2 separate regions of the Homo sapiens genome follow, and region 2 is linked to region 1. Evidence: promoter capture Hi-C in human tissues and cell types (Jung and others, 2019). All regions are on one chromosome and are shown on one strand. Each heading gives the region's core, a stretch centred on a gene start or on the middle of the fragment in contact. The rest is flanking DNA. Distances are from core to core; before and after follow the strand shown.

Region 1 (6,334 bases), core at 1,553-4,052:
CCAAAATAAGAAAAAAATTTGCTTAGGCTTTCTGCAATTACAATAATAAAAAGCATAGTCTGTGTAACCATTTAGACATGCATTCAAATCCTAGCTCCAAATCCTGGTCCCACAACTAACTAGCCACATGACCTTAAGTGAATTACTGAGACTCAGTTTCACTGCCTATAACATCATAGAAAATAATACAGAGCTGGAAGACAAACATCAGAGAATCAATGAGGTACTGTGAAAAGGTGTCTAATGCAGGTGGTAGACCCTGTAAGGAGTAGCTGATACTGTGTTTTAAATTCCAAATGAGGAATGTGTATATTTACCTTAAAATTGTTTGGCCTTATTCTTGAGCCCAATGACCAGTTAATAAAGTATAACTGAATACTTTAAAATATCATTATCAATTTATAAAAAATATTTCTTAAGCTCATTTTGTGGCAGGTAGTGGGATGGTGCAGAAAGAACATATAACTCATTCAAGTCCCTGTCCTGTAAAAGAAATTAAGTCACACGAAATCAATAGTGACCCATAGATGTCTCTTATGTGATCAAGTGCTTGCTAAGTTGTGGTTAACAGTCCAAAAGTGCTCCAAGAAAAGTAAAGAGATAGACCTCAGTGAGGATTAGAGCAGACTTCCAGGACTCAGTGGAGGAAATTTGAATGGAGATGGAGATGATGAGAAGGCCAGTGGGGAGAGAGAAAAGTCACCCCACAGGAGCCATAGGCATGAACCCAACAAAGCTTGTATAGGAAGGGCAGATCCAACACTGGGTGGAGTCAACTAAGCAAAATATTCATATTCCAAAGCTTCCATATAATTCCTTATTCAGACAACATTGTATATTGTTACTTGGCTCAGCAATTGAATGTTGACCTCGTTCTTACGAGACAGGGAGGATAAGGACTGCAATTCAAAATAGCCAGATTTGGAATTAGCACTCACAACCCTAGACCATATTTCTCATTCCTTTAGCCTTACTCCGTAACCATGTTCCTAACCACATTTCACACTTAAAGTTCACCTTTTTAAATAGAAATTGATTTTCTACTTCCACTGTCCCAGAAAGCATTGCCTAAGAGCCAAAAATCCAAGGTTCTTGTCCCATCTATTCCATTAACTAACATGAAGCAAAAAACGAGCCTCCTGTCTCTGGGTGAAACTGCTACATGGAATGGGTGCTTCTGGGTTTGAAGTTCCACAGATCCAGTAGGGATTTTGCTGATTGGAGGACGGCACAGTACTCTCCAGTGCATCTCCAAGCCTGACTTCCTGACCTCTTTTATACAATCTCTGGGCAAAACTACCAGTCGCTGTTATTTTCCTCTCTGCGGTAAACATGGAGCTCAAGAATGGATAGAAAGACCTTATTGTATTGCTCTACCTGGTAAATAAATATCATGTTGAATTTGCATGGCAGCTTTCTGATTATTTTCATGTCTCCGATAAGCATCAAGTCTGTCATAGGTACAGTATAAAAATGCCTGAGATTGCCTAACACCGATACTGTGGCAGGAAGAGAGGAGAAGAGCTGTACTGGGGAAAATGAGGAGTACTTGTAATCCTCTCTCGGGGCAGTGAGAGGGCCTGGGAAGAAAAGATCGAGCTGTTCCGTGTTGGGGTTAATGTTGGCTTGAAATGAAACTTCAGGGCAAAATGAAGCAGAGCAAAGAGCAGCGCCCACAAACCAACCTTAAATATCACAGCGGCGGAACATTTACCTGAAAGAAAAGTGACACTTGGCATTAAAAGTTCAATTATCACGTTCAGTGCAGAGCCTTGTTCTAGTCTGGAGCTGCCGGGTGTCACATGGTGCGTGATAACTTGCCCTTGATTTGGGTTCATTTGAAGAGCGTAGAACTCTAACAAATAAACAGCCTTTTGGGACCTGTCCCCGGACGAGGACTGCCCCCCTCCCTCGGGCAACTACTACTGATGCTGTCCAGGCATCGCCCAAGGGGAAAGGTTGCAGCGGGGTCGGAAGGCGCGGGAGGAGTCTGGCGGTGATTGATGGGAAGGGATGAATGAATAAAAGTACTTGTCTGATGGCAGCAGAGACCCCGAGCAAACGGTGGAGGCTACACTGTCTGGCATTCTCGCAGCGTTTCGTCAGAGCCGGACCCGCCTGCAGCTCAAGGGAGGCGTGCTCCTCTCCCAGAGCAGGCTGGAACCCAGCTGGGTTCCGCCTCCCGGGAAGGTGGTCTCCATTCGTCGCTCTGCATCTGGTTTGTCAGATCCGAGAGGTAAACATTCGGGCTTGGTGTTGAATTAAAATCATTGATTGAACCTTATTCTGGGGCTTCGGTTTGGCTTACTAGTTTGGGATTTTAAAAAAATAAAAATTAAGCCTATAGAGAGGGCAAATTAAAATTAGGTTGGGTAAAGGAAGGAGCGCGAGTGTTTGAAGCCGTTTGGAGGGAACAGCGGTTTCCAAGTTCCTGCTGACTTGAGAAGTCTCTGCGGGTTTCCGAATCTCCGGCGCACTCCTGGGCGCGCTGCGGGAGCTGTAGCTCAGCCAGCCAGGGAGTAGCGGCTTTCATCCGCCGGGAGGAGTCTTTCGAGTTCAATCGCGGGGTATAGAGGTTCCCCTGCGGGGCAAAATGCAGAGCTTGACACAAGCCCTTGGCCTCTAGGTGCCTTAATTCCGCGGTTCCCACGCACGCTTAACTAAGACGTGTCTGTATTCCTCCCGTTACGTGAAAGAGTTCGGAGCTTTGCCTGGGACCCCCATCATTCCCTCCCTGGCACACCCCTTCCAGAACGCCCCGCCCCACTGCATATTATTTACCCCTCCTGGCCACGCGGGGGAAGAAAAACAGCTGAGAGGGCATCAGGAAGGAGTTTCGACCCGCGCTGGCGAGTCATGAGCGCCAAGTTTCCCACTGGCGCGCAAACTTGAGTTACTTTTGAGCGTGGATACTGGCGAAGAGGCTGCGGGCGGTATTAGCGTTTGCAGCGACTTGGCTCGGGCAGCTGACCCAAGTGTCCTGTCTTCCTTCCTCTGCTTGTCTCTAGGCTCTGAAACTGCGGAGCGGCCACCGGACGCCTTCTGGAGCAGGTAGCAGCATGCAGCCGCCTCCAAGTCTGTGCGGACGCGCCCTGGTTGCGCTGGTTCTTGCCTGCGGCCTGTCGCGGATCTGGGGAGAGGAGAGAGGCTTCCCGCCTGACAGGGCCACTCCGCTTTTGCAAACCGCAGAGATAATGACGCCACCCACTAAGACCTTATGGCCCAAGGGTTCCAACGCCAGTCTGGCGCGGTCGTTGGCACCTGCGGAGGTGCCTAAAGGAGACAGGACGGCAGGATCTCCGCCACGCACCATCTCCCCTCCCCCGTGCCAAGGACCCATCGAGATCAAGGAGACTTTCAAATACATCAACACGGTTGTGTCCTGCCTTGTGTTCGTGCTGGGGATCATCGGGAACTCCACACTTCTGAGAATTATCTACAAGAACAAGTGCATGCGAAACGGTCCCAATATCTTGATCGCCAGCTTGGCTCTGGGAGACCTGCTGCACATCGTCATTGACATCCCTATCAATGTCTACAAGGTAAAGGGCGCCTGCTGAAATCATGGTGGGCTTGAGGAAGGGGGCCTGGTTGGAGACGGGGAGATGAGAAAGCTTGTAGAGGGAGCTTCCCTTTAGCTCCCTCTTAAGGTTCTGCCCCTCCTAAAAGTCAGTAATCTTTGGAACCAAATTCCATTTGGTTCTGTCCACTCATAAAAGTCAGTAACCATTGGAATAAAATTCCATTCAGGTCTTCAGTAGACCTCTGCTAAGCTTAGGACAAGCGTAGTCCCCAGTCTAGCAATGTTAGTATCACTTTGGGAACTTGGTGCACATGAAGATTTTTCTGGCCTCACCCCAGACCTACTGAATCAGAAACTCTGGAGTGGAGCACAGTAATTTGTATTTTAACAAGCCCTTTATGTGATTATGATGAACTGTAAAGTTTGAGAACCACTAGTCCTGAAGGATCTAGTCCCTAAGTGCACCTAATGGGGTACATCCTCTAGTCAAAAGTGTGTGGTCCATGGACAGTCAGCATCAATATTACCTGAGAGTTTGTTAGGAATGCAAGGCTACCTCAGACTTACTAAGTTAGAATCTGCATCTTAAGATCTTCATGTGATTGATATGCCCACTAACTTTGGGAAGGACTGTTTTGGAAGACTTTGAAAGTAGCAGGTACAAAGTAGGTATTTAGGAAATAAATGGCCTGGAAAAAAGAGATCCAGACTGGTGAGTAGGAAAAACACAGTTCACCTGCTGTGACGGACTGTAGCTACTTTGTATTAAATATCTACAGTGGGCCAAGGACTGGGTGAGATGTGTTACTTCCATTATTCCTTCCAGCAGCCCACAAGTAGATATTACAATTAGTTTACAGATGACTGGTAGGATGATCAAAGTAAATGAATTAGAGGTGGAGCTGGGGATCAGACCCAATCTGTCAGGTTCCAAAGTGCAAGCTATATGATGGCACCCCATCAATTATTTCATGGACAAGACCAAGGAGCACTCAAAATCTGTAAGGGTTTCGGTAGTTAACATTATTGTGTGATTACCATGGGCGTCAGTAGAAACACACAAAGAGCCAGGTTGCTCCAGGTTGCTTTGGAACTCCAGACACATCCCAGCACCTCTGGGCCTCAGTTTCCTCAATTCCACAATAAGGCTGCCAGTGCCCACTTACTGAGGCTTTATGGTGTTAAAAAAAAAAAAGCAGTCTAAATAAAACAGTTGGAAAATTTCAAAGACATATGAAAATATTTAAAACTTTCCCAGCAGCAGCAGCAGCAGCAGCAATAGAAAGTTGCACATAAAAACACAATCACAGTGTAAGGAAATGGAATTGTGCTTTGCAGATTTGCCTATAGCTAGCCCTGACTTCAGTACTTCAGTACAAGGGGAAAAAAATGGAATGTAAAGTTGGGAAATGTTGTAGGGAATGCTTTGACCTATTGGCAGGAGTAGTTACCATAAGGCATGCCTGTAAATTTCCCTTCATAAATCTCTAAAAATCCTAACCCAATAGCTATATTTTAAGGGGAATTCCGAACATTTCTGAGGTTTAGCGGTGAGAGTGGATTAGGATATAGTTTTCTCTAAAGGGAATCACCCCCGGAAATGGGGGAATCGATTGAAGAAATCCTAAAATCCTGTATGGCAATTGATTCTGATGAACTGTGAGGATTTACTTGGTAAGAGCTGAAATTGAATCTCTAAATGCAGCCACAACTCCATGAGGGCCAGAAGTGACCCTTTTACTTCTTAAGGCGTCCCACAAACTAAATCTTCCCATTCTAATTTGGCAAAGGAATTTCAATTCAATTCATCAAAACCGAATTGAGAACTTTTCAGTACAAGGTGTTGTGATAAATTTAAAATAAATCTAACAAGATCTCTTCCCAAAGGGAGATTAAAATCTAGTTTTGCTAGGTTGGCACAGGATTTTATGAAAGTTCTGTTTAGGGGGTCAGGAAACCCCACATGTCCAGCCCAGTTAGAAACCTTTCTAAATCAGACAGTAGCTGAAGTGCTGTGTAGAAGGTGGGATTGAGAACATTTTTTTAGTTCTGGTGTGCTGCCTCCAGGACAGATATAAATCAGCTCTTCCAGAACCATCTTATTTCCTCTGTCTGGTTAAATGAGTATTTGTAATAAACTAGAGAATTTCTGACTCCCCAAGAGGTCATACAGTTTCCCTTTCATTTCAAACTCCCATATGATTTCCCTAGGAAGTTACATCCTTTTCCCTGAAGCCATCCAGTCTTAACATGACTGTGTTTTTACTTCTGAAATAAGCCAATGAGTCATTATAAATCTGTCCATCCATTAATCTACATGGGTCACAAACACATTCATCACATTACGTCCCATCACTAAGGTCATCATTATTGAATCCTACCTTGTGGCCTTAGGTTTAGCTTGAGACACAATATCATAATAATGGCTACCAGTTAATGATGCACTAGGCACTTGGTTTATTTCATTAAGTCACTATAACAACCCTGTAGAGGAGGTATCGTTATCATTCCTGCTTTAGATCTAGGCAAACTACTTGTCAGAGAGGTGAAGAAGTAACTTGCCTAATGTCATACCACTACAAAGTAATGAAACTGGGGCTTGAAAGCAGATCATCCAGCCCAAGACCCTGTGGTCCACCCCATCCCACTGCACAAAGCATGCTCAGGCACTGCATGGTCATCTCCAACCTTGAGTATTGTTTTAGGATCTCATTTGGGAGCATTTGGTGGAATTATGGCAAATAATATGCTATCCCACAGTAGAATACTTGGTAAACATTTTCAGAAATTAATTTGAGTCAGGATTTCGGT
Region 2 (6,556 bases), core at 1,295-3,794, 270 kb before region 1:
CTTATAGAGGATAAATTTTAAAGTTTTGATTTAAGCTAACAATGGGCACAACAAGTCCTGAAACTCATCCTTTGGTTAATTCCTGAATTCCTAAGTATACAATTTTGATACATAGACTTAAAAACTGGAAAGGACTGCCCTGACCGGTGGAATAAGGGCCCTATGATTTAAAAAAAATAAAAAGGCAACTGAAAGACATGAAAGTTTCTGCTCCTAGTCAAAATAGATAATCAGAAGAAAAACTGAATCCTGCGAGGAAATACAGAGAAGCATTTCCTTAATAGGCTTAAAAGATTTGAGTAGTGGTCCTTTATGATATTGTCATTCATCTAGCCACCACACAAAACGGATGTATTGTGATGGATGAAAATGGACTATCATAAATTTAAAAGTAAAGCAGCTGTGGTACTAGATCAACACAGCCAATGACACTTGGTTTGCAGATGTTAATCTGGCAAATGCATTTTTTTAACCCCATCAATAGGGAGACAAAGAAGTTCACTTTTACATAGAAAAGATGATAGTACATATTTACTCTCTTGCTCCAGACCTACTGTTCAGCTTTCTGTCAAAATATAGTTTTCAGGAACATTAGATATCTTGAATTCCTCAGAACGTCGTATAGATCCACTATACTAGTGGCAGAATGCTATTTGAACATGGTGAGTAGAAAGTGGTAAGTATCTTAAGGTCCTAATATGACACATGCTTGGCAGAAGTTGAAGATAAACTTGACAAAGATTCAGGGCCCTGTCACACAAGTTGAAGTTTTGGTGGCTCAGTGGTCTTAGATATGTAAAGACATCATCTCTGTAATATTGTGAAATATATATTTGGTCTTCATCCCCATTTCCTGGCACACAGTTCCTAAAACCCTTAGAATCTCCAGTGATGAGTGTCTTTGTATGCTAATGAGGTGGCTGGTAGCTGAGGGCTCCTAGGAAACATCACAGTAGGGGATGGCCACCAGAAAACCCAAGGCATTTAGCCCCACCTGCCAATCTCTGGAAGGGAGAGAGAGGGCTGAAGGCTGAGAGATCACCAATAGACAACGATATAGTCAGTCATGCCTACGTAATGAAGCTTTCATAAAAACTGAAAACGGCAGAGTTCAGGAGAATTCAGATAGTTAAACACGTGGAGGGTCTTGCAGAGTGGTGCAGTGGAGGGGGCATGGAAGCTCCATACCCCTTCTCATATGCCATGCTTTATGCTTCTCTTACAACTGGCTGGATACTCATCTGAGTCCTTTGTAATATACTTTATAATAAGTGGGTGCAAGTGTAAGTAAAGTGTTTCCCTGAGTTCTATGAGCTGATCTAGCAAATTATTCAAACCTGAGGAGGGAGTCATAAGAGCCTGCATTTTGTAGCTGGTCTGTCAGAAGTACAGGTCACAACATGGGACTTGCAGTTGGTATCTGATGTGGGGAGGTGTGAGTCTTGTGGAACTGAATCCTCAATCTGTGAGATCTAACACTATGTACAGGAAAATAGTGTCAGAATTGAATTACAGCACACCCAGCTGGTGTCTGCTGAAGAAGTACTTTGTGTATGGGGAAATAATCCTCACACATCTGGTGTCAGAAGTGTGGTGTTGAGTGGTTTGTGAGAGTAGGAGAAACACTTTTTTTCCTATCCCTAATAGTCTCTAATATAAATCTCCTTCTGATAAGGAAAAGTAGAACATTTGTTGAATTCTTTGGAGTTTGTAGGTAGCAAAGAATACCTTTGTTAATGCAAATCCAATTGATTTATTCAGAAGACAGCCAGCAAGAGAGGTTTCTGCAGTAAGTCAGACTATGACCTAAGGTTCCACACAAACATACTCTATGACCCTGAAGTTTTGATGGCAGTAGAGATGCTTCTGATAGGTAAAAATGCTGTGTGGAGTAACTGATAACCCTCAGTAGGAGGGTAACAATGCAAATACCTCAGTTTCTGGAGCAAGACTATACCTTCTGAGTCACAGAAATTCTCACTGTTTGAGAAACAGCTCCTGGTACACTATTGAGTACTTGATCCTGACACACCAAGGAAATATAAAGCCCTGATACGCAACGAGGTGAAATCCTGACAAATGGAAATTGAAAAGTGGCAGATAAAATTCCTATTCCCTTCTCTTCTGAACAGGCTATCTTTAGATTCAGTTTTTCTTGTTATTTCTCAGAAGACCATCTTGCAAGACGAAGTGACCAGTTGTACTGGATAGCTCAGTAGCATCCTCACTTCAGTCTTCCTTCTGCCCTGTGTTGCTTCCTTTTTCCCTCACACCTAATTTTCTGTGATAACATTTTCAGGAAATTTGTAGCCCACAAACATCGCCTCAGTTTCTGCTTTCTGGAAAGACCAAGAAAGGGTCTCCTACTTAAGACCCTTCAGTGGTTAAGCCTGTTGTTTCAGCTCTGTCTTTCTAATCACCTCTCTCAACACTTCTTGCCTTGCAGTTTATACTCTAATTATATCAAATTGCTTTTGCTTCCCTATAGAAATCAGGCTGTTTCATACCTTTAGACCTTGACTTATGCTCTTTACTTGGTCAAGAATGCCATCTTTCATTCCCCTTTAATTATCATGTAGTAATCAACTCAGAGGTCACTGCCTTCTGCATTTCTTTCTCAGGGTAAGAGGTGTGAGATGTAATGATCTGTCATTTGTCTTATAGGAGATTGTCTGACACACCCTATGCCACTGATACACTGAAAACATCGCCAGTGTAACAGGACCCTGAATCTTCATGATACTTACCTCCTATGCTTCGATAGGCCTGTGTCATGCAAGGGCTCCAGGATAAACTGGACGGCCATTAGGAGACAATATGTGGTAGGGTGGATCACCTATGAGAAAATGTGAAGGACATTTTGAAGCTATTTGTTAAGTGTCTGGACCCTTGAATTTAGACTGTTGACTGAAATAAGGAAAATCCGGGCTGTGCCCCCACCCCACCCCACACACAATTTGGACAAGAAGAAAAAGAACTCACTTGAGAGGGGTAAGATTTAAGAATATGTGCTCTACTTTTAGATGAAGAAAGGAGAAATCCTGCAAGTGCAGATTTCTGATCCAAACTTTGAAAACTTGGAGAATGTTATGCAATAAAGAAATCAAGGTAACATTTTACAAACCAAATGAAGGCTGTTAATTACAGCTTAGGCTATTTAGATTTGGTTCAACAGTCATCACATTTACAGTAAACTTCACCTTTCACTTGTGGTAGAACAAATTGATTCTCCCTTTAGTTCAAATATGTTTGAGTGCTTTATCTTTGCTATGTGCTATGCAAGGAACTTAGAGTACAGAGAAGAATCACACAGGCTCTTTGCTATCAGGGAGCTTCTAGTCTAATCTGAGGCATTGCCCAGTCCCACTGATCATGGTTGGAGAGCTATGAGAGAGGTATGCCAGGGCACTGTGGGAGACTAGGAACAAGGCTGTCCAGTGTGCACGAGCAGAGGAGGCTCCCTTATGACCCTTGCACCCTAAAGTACGGCAAGACAGAAACATTATGAATGAGGATAAAGACCCTGTCTGTAGCAAGTAGGATCCATAACAATGAATACTGGGTATGTATGTGAGTATTCTACTGCAGAGAACTGCAAGATTTTGAGGAAAAGTGGGCCCATTTAATATCATTGTTAGCGGTCTTTTTCTCTCATAACATTTGTTCTCTATCATGCTCTTTTCTAACTCAGTAAAAGACTTCTGGGTATGTTGAAGTTGTTAATAATTCCTATTTAGTTTTGTTTTCCATAAACTTGGTCAATTTTTTCTAGCATAAAAAAAAGTTCTTTCCAGCTGTGATTTTAAAGAAATAGCCTCTTCCATTTGTGTCTTATGAGTAAGCCAACATTTCAAATTTAGCAGTTGAGCTAAAACTTCTACACTTTTTTCTCCTTCAGAAAACATCTTCCTCCTTTCTCACTGGTAACTCTGTTTGTTTAAAGTCCTAACTATGGATTCTCATGTGCTATCCTATGTAGCAAGCAGGAGGGGGAAATCTCCGCCTACCTGGATTCATGCCATTTTAGTCCTTTCCTCCCAGACTGAACAGACAATTATTAAGACTTTAGACTTCTTTGAATTCTGCTTGATGTTGACTGAGGTTGTTTATTTCACAGTTCTGGAGGTTCACACATCTAAAATTGAACAGTTCATATAGTTGGAGAATGGTACGTGACTGTAGTCTGAGCATGAAGTACATTTGGATGGCGTATATGTCAACTGAATGCAGGTAGCAATAAGCATGTGTGTTCTGAAGACAAATGAGCAAATTTGCCTCCTTACTTCCTGTGGAACATAGAGCCTCCTTTGTCTTGCGTTGTCTTTCAGCAAACAAAGAAGCAACTTGGCCACATAGCGCTCACGTTTTATTTATTTATTTCCCCCCTGTAGTGTTTTCAGTCCAAGCTGCCCTACATGAAGGAATCATGTCTATGTATTAGCAAGGCCAGACTATTGCATGGGAAGTTCTCTTTTGACCCCTGCAACAGATTAACTGTTGGCCATAAGGAAGTCTCTTAACCTCATGGCATTTCCCTTTATGCTCTCCAAGTGGAGGATAATAACGCTGGAAAAGAAAAGTGACTTGATATTCACAAATAGGAAGCATCCTTTCAATGTTTTTGTACATATGGGTTTCTTGTTACAATAATAGTACTATTTTAATGAGCCTAAAATAATCCAAGAGGGTTCTAGAACACTGCTGTGTGGCTAATAAACCAATTTTTCAGTGTGTCATTATTTTGTAAAAAAATATTGAAGTAAAAAATATTTTACTTCACCTGTTCATTATCCATGGGAATATTTTGATTGTCATGCAGGAATTGGTAGATAACTAAAAAAGCACACACATACTAGCTTAGTAGTTTAAAGGCCTCTTACTAGGTATGAGCTGAGAGGAGTATAACGAAAAACAAAATAAAACAAAAAATACATACAAATAAAGCTTTTACCATTCATTTTGGTGCAAATAGAATTCATTTTATAAAAGAAAAGCTTACAAAGACTAGACCTCTGGAACTTCAAATTTTATTTGTGTTTCATTATAATCTCACCTCTTCAAGAAAAAAAATGCAATATCTACTAAATCATTAGCACAATATAAAGCCCCTTTTATTAAATATAAATCAGAGAGAAAATATCTAATATAACCTTCTTATATTGACACTAGTTACATTTTTTTAAAATGCAGATACTCAAATATTATTGAGAAAACCTAAATCATTGAATATGTTCATAAAGTAAAACAAAAACTGTAGTGCAGTAAAAGAAAATGAAAGAACCACTCCTCTTTCCCACTAACCTAGCCATATTGAAGCTATTTCAGTCAGCCAACAGCATTGATTCAATATCCACTAGTACAGAGCACTGCATATGTTCTTTGAGTTCAATCAAATAGAACATATAACTCCTGCCTTTAAAGACCTTTCTTTCTAATAAGTCTCCATTAACACAGAAGCATTGAAACACATTCAGAATCCACAGATTGCACTAAGATTTACACAATCAATGGACAGGGAAGTTTAAAGAATGGGCAGCAGAGGAGAGTCCAGAATGCAGTCAGGAGTGCTAGTTTTGATCTCATCAAAGTATCACACCCCATCAACTTTTCTGGCTTCATACCATATAATAGTACAACCTCTGTGGATAACCAGAGGTTATCAAGGACAGCTGTGAGCATAAACAGCAGCAATGAGGACCATCAGATAGTCATATGGATGTGTTTATTGTTCCTGCCCTTGGGAGGCCCAGAGGAGCTGCCTATTTGTCCTCTATGTCTAGAAGATCAAGAACCAGAGGGAACAGAGACACTTCCTTGGGGTGCTTTGACAGAAGGCAGGAGACAGTTGGCCTATTTCTACACTCCCAGTCTGGGGAAAGGGGAGGCACTGTGGGTCTGTGATGACTTCCTGCCTTAGTGATTGTCCTCTCTTGGAAACTCTAACACAAAGACCCAAGTTCCAGTAAGCAAAGAAAGAAAACTAACAATCCATTCAAGGAAAATACATCAGAACAACAGAACTCGTGCCGGGCCAATAGAGCAGTTAGAGTAAAGACTTGACAACTTGAGTAAGGAATTAATAAGAACCCTTCAAGAAATTCAAGTACAGCACTTGGGAGACTGTGGAAATAAGTAATTTAATACATGAATCAAAGGAGATATGTAGAAGTGACCCAGACGATCAAGGGAGTCAACTATGTCCCAACATAGAGGGCAAGAACATGAAGAAATGAGAATGAGGGGAAAGATAATACTTTCAGAAGTCTAAGAGACCAAACATGCAAGTAAGAGAATTTCTACAAGGCAATGTAAGAACTGGGACAAAAGAGGAATGATTAAAGACATGATAGAGAAAATGTTCTATAAATTACATAACAAATCCCTGTAGTCTCTTGGTAGATTGAGAAGAAAAGATACACATGTAGGAAAAAAAAATTTAGAAAATATTTCTGAACTCTAAGGAGAAAGGGATAATCTTAAAACTTTCAAGTGAAACAAGTTACAATGAAAAAGAAACTGAAAGACATTGAGCTTCATCAGCAACACCCGAGAGGAG

The links. The method cuts DNA at HindIII sites, captures the fragments that hold promoters and counts their contacts. A contact is called where the count stands out against the background at its distance.
Region 2: a fragment that was not itself captured here is called in contact with the fragment with the promoter of EDNRB in region 1 in 2 of the 25 tissues and cell types used here (H1 embryonic stem cells and bladder).

The regions. Positions count from the first base shown.
Region 1 is chr13:77,915,299-77,921,632 of GRCh38, reverse strand. EDNRB (endothelin receptor type B) reads left to right here and starts at 2,802. Exons shown (of 7, transcript NM_001122659.3): 1 at 2,802-3,542. The coding sequence starts at 3,060. RefSeq lists a cis regulatory region at 2,436-2,445 and promoters at 2,697-2,811, 1,801-2,873. The HindIII fragment of the contact is 11,006 bases long and covers 1-6,334 here.
Region 2 is chr13:78,185,888-78,192,443 of GRCh38, reverse strand. It overlaps OBI1-AS1 (OBI1 antisense RNA 1), which reads right to left. Exons shown (of 6, transcript NR_047001.1): 2 at 2,748-2,836. Among named protein-coding and RNA genes, the nearest start is that of OBI1-AS1, 130 kb to the right of the region's middle. The HindIII fragment of the contact is 4,851 bases long and covers 119-4,969 here.